Regions from separate parts of the Homo sapiens genome. Here region 1 is linked to region 2. The links are contacts of gene promoters, found by promoter capture Hi-C in blood cells and fetal thymus (Javierre and others, 2016). All regions are on one chromosome and are shown on one strand. Each heading gives the region's core, a stretch centred on a gene start or on the middle of the fragment in contact. The rest is flanking DNA. Distances are from core to core; before and after follow the strand shown.

Region 1 (4,741 bases), core at 1,794-4,293, 500 kb after region 2:
ACCCAGGTTGGAGTGCAGTGGTGCAATCTCAGCTCACTGCAACATCTGCCTCCTGGACTTCAGCAATCCTCTCACCTCAGCCTCCTGAGTAACTGGGACCACAGTTACGCACCACCACACCCAGCTAATTTTGTATTTTTTTGTAGAGGTGAGGTGTCACCATGTTGCCCAGGCTGGTTTCAAACTCCTAGGCTCAAGCCATCTGCCCATTTCAGCCTCCTGAAGTGCTAGGATGACAGGCATGAGCCACCTCGCCCAGCGTGCCCACCTCATTTGGTGAAACACCCTCTCTCTCTCACTGTGCTATTGCTATTAATTTTCCCACACCCTCCATTCTGTCTCAAACACTAAGAGTTCAAACATCTCTTCTCCAGTGATCTTAACCTTGGACTTAGAATTTTCCCCTGTTTCTTAACAGTACCTCTCCTCCCTGGCTGTTCTTTAGCATAACATCAATTCAGTCAAATGAAATAAACAAACATTTACAGAGTGAAGGGGAGGGAAAGATGGGAAGGGGACAGCTGTGATTACTGACCCATCCTGCCCCAGCTTTCCCTCACTAGGAGTAGTTTTGGGTACAAACTCAGAATGGCAGTTAAGAAGAAAAAAGCCTTGTTTTTTATGCTTTCCTAAAGACCAGCAAGGAACAATTGGAATTTGAAATGTAAAAAAAATACCATTTACAATAGCACCAACAAAAATCAAAACAAAACAAAAACCACTTAGGCCCAAATCTAACAAAATAAATACAGGATCTATATGAGAAAAACTACATAACACTGGTGAAGAAAATCAGAGATCTAAATAAATGGAGAGAGAGTCCATGTTACAAGATCAATATACAAAAGCCAGTTTCTGTCATATACTAAATACCAGCAATGAACAATTGGGATTTGAATTTTATTTTATTTATTATTATTATTATTTTGAGACAGGGTCTTGCTCTGTCACCCAGGATGGAGTGCAGTGGCATGATCATAGCTCAATGCAGGCCCCACCTCCTGAGCTCAAACAATCCTCACCTCAGCCTCACAAGTAGCTAGGACTACAGGTGCATGCCACCATGCCTGGCTCATTGGGAAAAATTTTTTTTTTTTTTTATAGAGATGGGGTCTTGTTATGTTGCCCAGGCTGGTCTTGAACACCTGAGCTCAAGGGATTCCTCCTGTTTTGGCCTCCCAAAGTGGAATTAGAGGTGTGAGCCACTGTGCCTGGCTGGGATTTGAAATTTAAAAAAAAAAAGATAACATTTATAAGCCTTATTTCTTGGCGTCATGTGGTTCAAGTGAACACCTTAGCTTGGTGATTTGCAGTTTCAACTTGACTGTGCCCTTTAACCAGAAATCCTGGGGTTGTTGAGACCTTTCCATGTAGTAGCCCAGATCTCATCTTCAATTTTGAGTCAAAATGGATTTTTGAGCGGTCCTAATAGTCACTGGATTCCTCTGAGGTACTATTTGTTGACATTTTTTTTTCTCCAAGCCTCTTTCATTTAGGCAGCCAAATTTTCCTCAGAGACTTCCATTCCTCATTTTCAAACCTTCCTGCCTCTTTTGCTTCCAGCTGGTTCCTGAACTTCGGTCTGACATTTCCAACAGTACCTCCAGCCTACAGCAAGTGTCCTGCCTTTGTGGCCTGTTTCCCGGCCATTGTCTGGCTTCTCTGTTCTTCATTCCCCTTTATCTCTACTCCTTCCCTCCTCCTCCCCAGTGCACAGGTCAGGCATTCAAGGGTGGACGTATCATGGACAACTCTGATTTGAGTTGTTTTCTCTGAAACAAATATTTGCATATGTGACCCTCCCCCACCCCGCCATTTACCATATGGCTTTTCCTCCATCTCAGCCAGAGGAACTCTCAAATTCATATATGTTTTTGGAAATGAAGTTTTCCCCAGATGGTCTCTCCAAAGCACCAAAGCAAGGTCAGAGTTTGTGCATTCCTTCAAAGGTTCTGGGCAGGAGTTAGAATTACTCGTGTTTTCTTACTCCCATCAGCAGTTATTTTGTCAGTGCACCTGATAATGGGACAAAACCTGAGTCTTTCTTAGCTAAAAACACACCAGTGTTTGAGGGAGATGTTGAACCATAAACTGGTGTCCCCAGGGAAAGGAGAGAAACCTGCTCAGTTGCTCAAATAATTTCAAACCAAAGCCCCTGAGGATACTTCCACAGGGAGAGAAAAAGAGTATGAATATTAGAAAGATGATGAGCCAGGTGTGCTGAAAAGTTTTCTTAGTCATTCTTAACCCTAGAAGGGGATGGGGGCAGCCCCACATCTCTACTGGGAAACATACTTCCCCTTTTAAATCAGGAAAGAAGAAAACAACAACATAGCCCCAAATAGAGAATGTTTTCTTTTGTAACTGGAAGCAAACATTGCTGATGGCTTTAACAGCTGTCTGCCAACGTGGCCTGAGCAGCAGGCAAGCTCAAACATTTTCTGAGATCAACATATGTACAGACGTACAGTATATTAGGTCAAATTATAAATCCAGGAATAAAAGAACAAATAAGTTTCGGCTTTCTCTAGGCTTCTGCATCCAACACCAGCTAAATTAGCCTCTGAAGCAGAGGAATCTGGATTCCAAATAGGCAGGTCTTCCAAAAGTTCAAGTCAAACCTCCCTCTGGTAGGAAAAGAAGGTGCCGTTGTAGATTAACTTGCTGATGACTGACCAGGTCCGGGCTGCTGGGCCCAGCCTAGCCAAGGCTTCCCTGTGTCTTAGCCCAGCAGACTCTGAGGATCTGCGTGCGGCAGGTTAACGTTAAGCCTGCCATTGACTTGATCTTTGACCCCAGTAAATCATTTAATATGCAGTGTGCCTTTGTCCATATGTTAATGTTTTGTGTAATTCGGATGAGAATTCCAGCAAGTCTGGGTGTGCCACCCATTAGGACTAAAGCTTTCCCTTTGGAGCTTCTAGGAGGAACCTTCTGGATAGCTACATTGCAGAAAGCTGAAGTACCTCGATGAACCTAATTGAAATGCCTGCAGATGGTGAGACCAGCCTTGCCTGAACTGTGACTGAGAAGTAAAAGAATGAATTTTTTCCTTTGTTATCAAAACTGACACAAAACTTTTAGTTTTGCCTTAGGGCAAGAAACCCACCAGAATGTAATAGGCAGGAGAATACTGGCTTCCACCACTCTACTAGTTATGGGACCTTGAACAAGTCACATTGGCTAAGCTTCCATAGATGTTAGTGGGTCATGAAATCAATGAAATAGATTGGAACTAAAAAAAAAATTTTTTCGAGATGGAGTCTTGCTCTGTTGCCCAGGCTGGAGTGCAGCGGCTCAATCTCGGCTCACTGCAACCTCCACCTCCTGGGTTCAAGCGATTCTCCTGCCTCAGCCTTCCGGAAGCTGGGATTACAGATTCCTGCCACCAAGCCCGGCTAATTTTTGTATTTTTAGTAGGGACAGGGTTTCACCATGTTGGCCAGGCTGGTCCGAACTCCTGACCTTAGGTGATCTGCCCTCCTCAGCCTCCCAGAGTGCTGGGATTACAGGTGTGAGCCATGGCGCCAGGCTCTAAAAAATGTTTTAATAAAATAAATTGAGTAGAATAGAAAATACCAGGGCTTAGTCCACAGTAAGGGGAAGTACACGTGTGTATGTATGATTCCTGGGGTCATAATGAACAATAAACGTTCTACTATAGGTAACTAACAAAAAGTTTTCAAGCCAGTGGCTTAGCCCAGTGGTCCCCAACCTTTTTGGCACCAGGAACAGGTTTCACGGAAGACAGTTTTTCCTTGGATGGGGTGGAGGAGCCGGTTTTGGGATTAAACTGTTCCACCTCAGATCATTAGTTAGATTCTCATAAGGAGTGGGCAACCTAGATCCGTCACACGCACAGTTCACAATGGGGATCGCATTCCTACGAGAATCTAATGCCGCCACTGATCTGATGGGAGGTACACCTCAGGCAGTTATGCCTGATGTTCACCTCCTGCTGTGCAGCCAGGTTCCTAACAGGCCATGGACTGGTACCAGTCCATGGCCTAGGGGGTTGGGGACCCCTGGCTGAGACCATAGAGCTTCGATCTCCTAGTCTATTTGTTGGAAATAATTCATTTTATATGCATACATAGATATACATACATATACAAATACACACACATCTAATGAGCACCTACTCTGTGTCAGGCACAGTGAGGGGTGTGTGAGGTATACAGGCATGACAAGGCCCTGTCCCCGTGGAGCACTGGCTAGTCAGGGAGCCTATCATAAAATACTGGCATAATGATTTCACTGCCATTGTGATTAGGGCCACAAAGAGACTTACAAAGGGAGAAGAGAGTATGTCGCAGGGTTCCTGACCTGGGCTGCAAGACCAGGGCCAGCCTTCCTGAGGAACGGACATAGAAGGAGGCAGAGAGTGATGCAGGCAAAGAACTGGGGGCATCCCCGGCTGAAGAACCAGCAAGTCTGAGCAGACCCTGAAGAAGGAGTAACCTGTGCTGGGCCTGCCCCAAAGGCTTCTGTGAGGATGACCAAGGGAGGTGACAGCCAGCAGAAACACAGTTTCTGTAAACTGTAGAGTGTTATTCAAATGTGACCTATTATTTAAAACAATGAATATAAACATGCCTTAAAGGTGAGCTTAGCCGGTGGATGGCTCATGCCTGTAATCCCAGCACCTGGGGAGGCCGAAGAGGGTGTATCACCTGAAGTCAGGAGTTCGAGACCAGCCTGGCCAACATGGTGAAACCCCATCTCTACTAAAAGTACAAAA
Region 2 (4,511 bases), core at 709-3,208:
TCCATCTGCCCGCTGGGGCCCAGTTTCTTGGCGGACTCTACGTCGGCCTTCATCTCCTCCAGGTCCCGCTTGAGCTTAGCGCGCCGATTCTGGAACCAGGTGATGACTTGCGCGTTGGTGAGGCCCAGCTGCTGCGCGATTTGGTCGCGATCGGCGGGGGACAGGTACTTCTGGTATAGAAAGCGCTTTTCCAATTCATAGATCTGGTGGTTGGTGAAGGCCGTGCGCGACTTTCGCCGCTTCTTAGGGGTCTGCCGCTGCCCAAAGATGGTCATACCGTCGCGGCCTGGGAGGAAAGGACAGTGTAGGCTCGCGTTGGGAGAGAGGAAGCCCACCCTGGCTCTCGCCCCCGTAACTCCGTAACCCACCCAGGCCTGTCCGGCCTGCAGTCTACCAATGTTCCCTTCTCAGATTTAATTCAGCCTCCAGGACCAGGGCAAGTCTTGGCTATGGCAAACCATCTCCTGTCTTTGGTCTCCCAGAAGTCCCTAGGAAAAATTGTTTTGGTCTCTGCCCCCTACCTAAGAGTTGGTTTGAAAGACCCAAAGTCTCTAAGGGTATGAGAAAGCCAGACAGAGACACCCTAATTGCGGTGTGAATGTTGGTTCTCCATCCCTTCCCAATCACTTCAACTCTACCCTACCCATAAGGTCCCCGGCAAAAGACTCTCGATTCCCCACGCCGAGTAGCCGGGCTAAGAGCGCCCAGGACACTGGGAACGCAAGGGAGCCCGGCAAAGCAAGCAGACTGCGGAAAGAGCTTGGCCACCCTTCTCCTGCCACCCCCCAGCTCTGGCCTACCCAGAGGTCCCTGGGAAATAAGGATTGGGTCCCGTCCCACATATCTTCACTCCCATAAGCAGCTGCTCAGGCTGGAAGGCCCTGGCGGCCGGAGAGGGCAGAGGCGAGCAGAGGCATAGGGGACGAAGCGCGCAGGGCACAGGGCGCGAGGCGCTGGGTGCAGGGGAACCCAGCAGCTGCGCCTACCTTCGGCTGCCTGCAGAACGCTGACCTCCAGCCCCTTAAACGTCTTGCTGGCGAGCTCCTCCAGCGCGCACAGCGGCGAGGTCTGCGAGAGCAGCGCGCGGCCCGCCAGGGGCAAGCCGCCCTGCGCGTGCTTGTCCGCGGCGGCCAGCAGGTGCGCCGCCCCGCACAGCGAGTAACTTCTCCGCACAGACGGCTTGTTGAGGATGTCCTCGATGCTGAACGGCGTCAGTGGCTTGTTGGAGTTGGCAGGCGGAGGCAGGTGGTCCAGCGGGCTGCGCCGCCGCTCCTCCCCCGGCGCCGCCTTGCCGTCCTCCTTGGAAGTCATCTCGGCCTTGTTCGGGGTCCCGGCCGGGGCGGCTCGGGCCGCGGGGACCCAGCCCGCGGGCAGCTCGGGCGCCGGACGGCGCGGGCAGGCAGCGGCGGGTGGAAAGGAGGCCGCACTGGGCAGGGCGCGGGCCGGGCGCGGGGCCGATTAGCGCGGCGGCTGAGGAGGGGAGAACAGCGCGGGGCCCCGGGAAGAGGGCGCTGACGCGGGCGCCGCTGCTGCTGGGGCTTCCAGCAATCCGGGGCCGGAGCCGGGGCGCGCTGCGCGGGGCTCCAGTTTCGCCAACCCCGGTGCTATTTAAAGGTGTCAGGTGGCTCGGCAGTGGCTCCTGGCCCCGGGTCCTGGCGGCCGCAGTTGGAAGAGCCGAGGCGAGGGCGCCGATCCCGGACTGCGAGGGAGGCGGAGAGACGGGGCAATTGACTATTGCTAACAAGTTAGCCTTGATCGCGGTGTAATCAATTATCTGCAGCGGCACTTCTTTCTCTTTCTCTCTCCTTTCTCCCTTTTTCCTCTCTTCTTTGCCTCTGTTCTCTCCTCCTGTTCTCGCTCTCCCTCCCTCCCTCTCTCTTCTCTCTTCTCTGCTCCCCCCTTCTCTCTCCTTCTCTCCCTCTCCCTCGCCCTCTCTTTCACTCTCTGTCTGTCCAATGCAGGCGGCTGTAAGTTGGGAAGCTCATTAATTAGCGGGCCGGGGGTAGGAGGAGCCGGCTGGAATTAGCCTGCCTAATGCGCCTGTCAGTCCGGGCGCTGCGCTGCGTTCGGCCCGAGCTGTTTGTAAATTACATTAGCTGCTCCTTTATTGCACCCGAACCTCGGGCGACTGAAAAGCCACCGCCCCCACCCCAAACTGCGAGCCGCGCTCCTGGCGCACCCGCCTCCCGCCGGCCTAGCTGCAATGACCGCACCGGCCCGAAGGTCTCGGTCTCTCCGACCCGGGATGTGGAGCCCGAAAGAGTGGTGGGAACCCCAGCCCGGGAGGGACGCGGCCGCCGCTCGGGCCAGGTAGGACCAGGAGCCCGGGTGGGCCCCGCTGCCACCCAGAGTGGACTTTGCGGAGCTGAGATCAAGAGCCCAGCGCCTCTACCTCTGACCCTCTTGCCCCTCACCCCACTGCCTGGGCGACGCGCCTGGGGAGAGGGAATCTGAAGCCCTCCTGCGCTGGCCCGCAGGAGGTCAGAGCCGGCTGCGCAGCCTTGGGTGGGCGACGCGGGAAGGGGGTGGAGGACCCCAGGGGTTGGGGGAGGGGGCTAGTCGGAGAGCTCAGCCTTCTCCACGCGGAGAGGCGGAGGAGGGAATTGTTGGCGGCTCTGGACGCCTCTCCCCGGCCTGATTCCGAAGCGGCCGCCCTACCTCCTCCGGCAATCTTGCTCACTTTCCTCCGGCAGCCGCTCCCCAGGCTGGCTGGGGCCACCAACGGCCTGATGATGGGCGTCTGAAGAGTAGCCAGGCCAGGTGCCGGGGCTAACGGGGCCGGCTCCGTGCCTCCCTGCTGCGCTCCGCCCGGGCCCCGGCCGGGGCCCCGCTGCCGGCCCCGCCTAGCCCAGCGCCCGGCTTGAGTGCATGGCCAGGCCGACTCCAGCTGTTCCGGATGCGGGGCGGGGGCCCGGCGGGAGCCAGGCCGCGGCTGGGGCTTTGCTCTCAGGAACTCGCAGGGAGGCCAGGCTTCCAGTTAGGCTGGGGCTAAAGACCTTAGGGCCCGGGATCTGTGAATATCGGGAGAACATGTTGTGTGCATTGTTACTTGAAGGTGTTTGTGTTTTTGAATGTGTGTTTGTGTGTGTTTCTCCATGCGTATATTTGTGTAAATGTGTGTGAACCTGTGGGTATATAGGTGTGTTTGAACTCAGCTATTTCTTTCATTTCCCTGAGGCATTCCAGCAGGGCTGTGCCCTCAGGCCTTCCTGTCTTGCTACCCCATTCTGTTTATGTGGGGCCACTGGCCTCCTTACTAATTTTCCATTTCTGCCCTTGGAGAAAGGAGGGGAGGACCTAGAGGGGGTTGGAGTCCAGGGAGAAGGGCTGTTCCCCTCCCACACACACACAGCCCTGGCCCTGGCTTTGTTTGTAAACTCCTGGGTGGGCGGTGAGGTTGGGCATTGGGCAGCACCGCTTGGACCAGAAAAGGGCCCAGAGAGGCCAAAGTGAGGATTTGTGGCCCAGGCCAAGGGTTGGAATGGGAAGATTAGGATTTCTTGCCCCCTCTCCCCTCATATCTAACCCCAGAGAGGGAGTGAGCTAAGCTGGGCTCCGGGGCGGGAAGCAGGTTCTTTCTCTGGATGCCTCAGCGTAGGGGGCCTCTGCACAGCAGAGATAGGTTTCATGATCTCACCTTCAGTTGTTTGTTTGGAATTGTGGCTGGCAGCTCTCTGGGGTAAAAAGGACAGTGTAGGGAGAAAGGGTTCTTGTTTGGTGCCCCAGTTCTGTGAATGTTGGGAAGAACCCCTACCCTCTAACTCATCTTTGTCCTGCATTTTCGGGGTGGCAGTAAGCGAGTGGGGGGAAGACAAATGCTCAGAGGCAGGATTGGTGAGAATGGGAATCACAGTTCCCTCAGAGCTGCAGACCCACTCCAGGGCAGACCTGTCTCTACTCTTCTGCGCTGCCCTGGGAGCCACGAGGTGCTGCTGGGCCTAGCAACAGAGGAGTCAGAGCCTAGAGACCAGCAGAGGCGGACCGGTGGGAGAGGGCGTTGGGGAGCTGAATCTGGGTGGCTTGGAAGCTCTGGGGCCAAGAGGGGTCAGTCCTCTCACTTCCTGCCCTCAGGATCCCATTTCAGCCTTTTCCTGCCATAACCCCAACCCCCTGACCCAGAGCCTCAGGCAAGTGAGGCTAGCAGGGAGGCAGGGAGGCCCCTCTAGATCCAGGAACAAGGACCCTTGGATCCCAATAGAGAGAAAGAGAGAGAGAGAGAGAGAGAGAGTTCCTCCCATACTTCCACACCCTTCCTGTCCTCTTCAGTCTTTGCATCGCATCTGGTACTAGCCCACAGGATAGGACTTTAAGGACAAGCCAATCCCCTGCTGTTGCCCATCTCCCAGATCCTCAAGACCAGCGGAGTTCAGGGTTACTGGGAAGCTGACAGGAAGGGGAACATGAACTGGGGAGCAGAGGGGTCCCTCTGCTTGGCGTGTTCTTAATGTCTTATCCTGCTGGCTAGTACTGAGATCTTTAGTCTTCAGCCACACCATGTCAAAAGGAACACG

What was found. The method cuts DNA at HindIII sites, captures the fragments that hold promoters and counts their contacts. A CHiCAGO score of 5 or more calls a contact.
Region 1: a contact is called between a fragment that was not itself captured here and the fragment with the promoter of LBX1 in region 2, in 1 of 17 cell types (M1 macrophages). The highest score is 5.1, in M1 macrophages.

Annotation. Positions count from the first base shown.
Region 1 is chr10:101,723,303-101,728,043 of GRCh38, forward strand. The region is part of intron 1 of LINC03046 (long intergenic non-protein coding RNA 3046); the gene reads right to left. Among named protein-coding and RNA genes, the nearest start is that of LINC03046, 4.5 kb to the right of the region's middle. RefSeq lists an enhancer at 1-663. The HindIII fragment of the contact is 285 bases long and covers 2,902-3,186 here.
Region 2 is chr10:101,227,505-101,232,015 of GRCh38, forward strand. LBX1 (ladybird homeobox 1) reads right to left here and starts at 1,959. Exons shown (of 2, transcript NM_006562.5): 1 at 987-1,959; 2 at 1-286. The coding sequence starts at 1,311. LBX1-AS1 (LBX1 antisense RNA 1) reads left to right here and starts at 2,090. Exons shown (of 3, transcript NR_029380.1): 1 at 2,090-2,310. The HindIII fragment of the contact is 27,362 bases long and covers 1-4,511 here.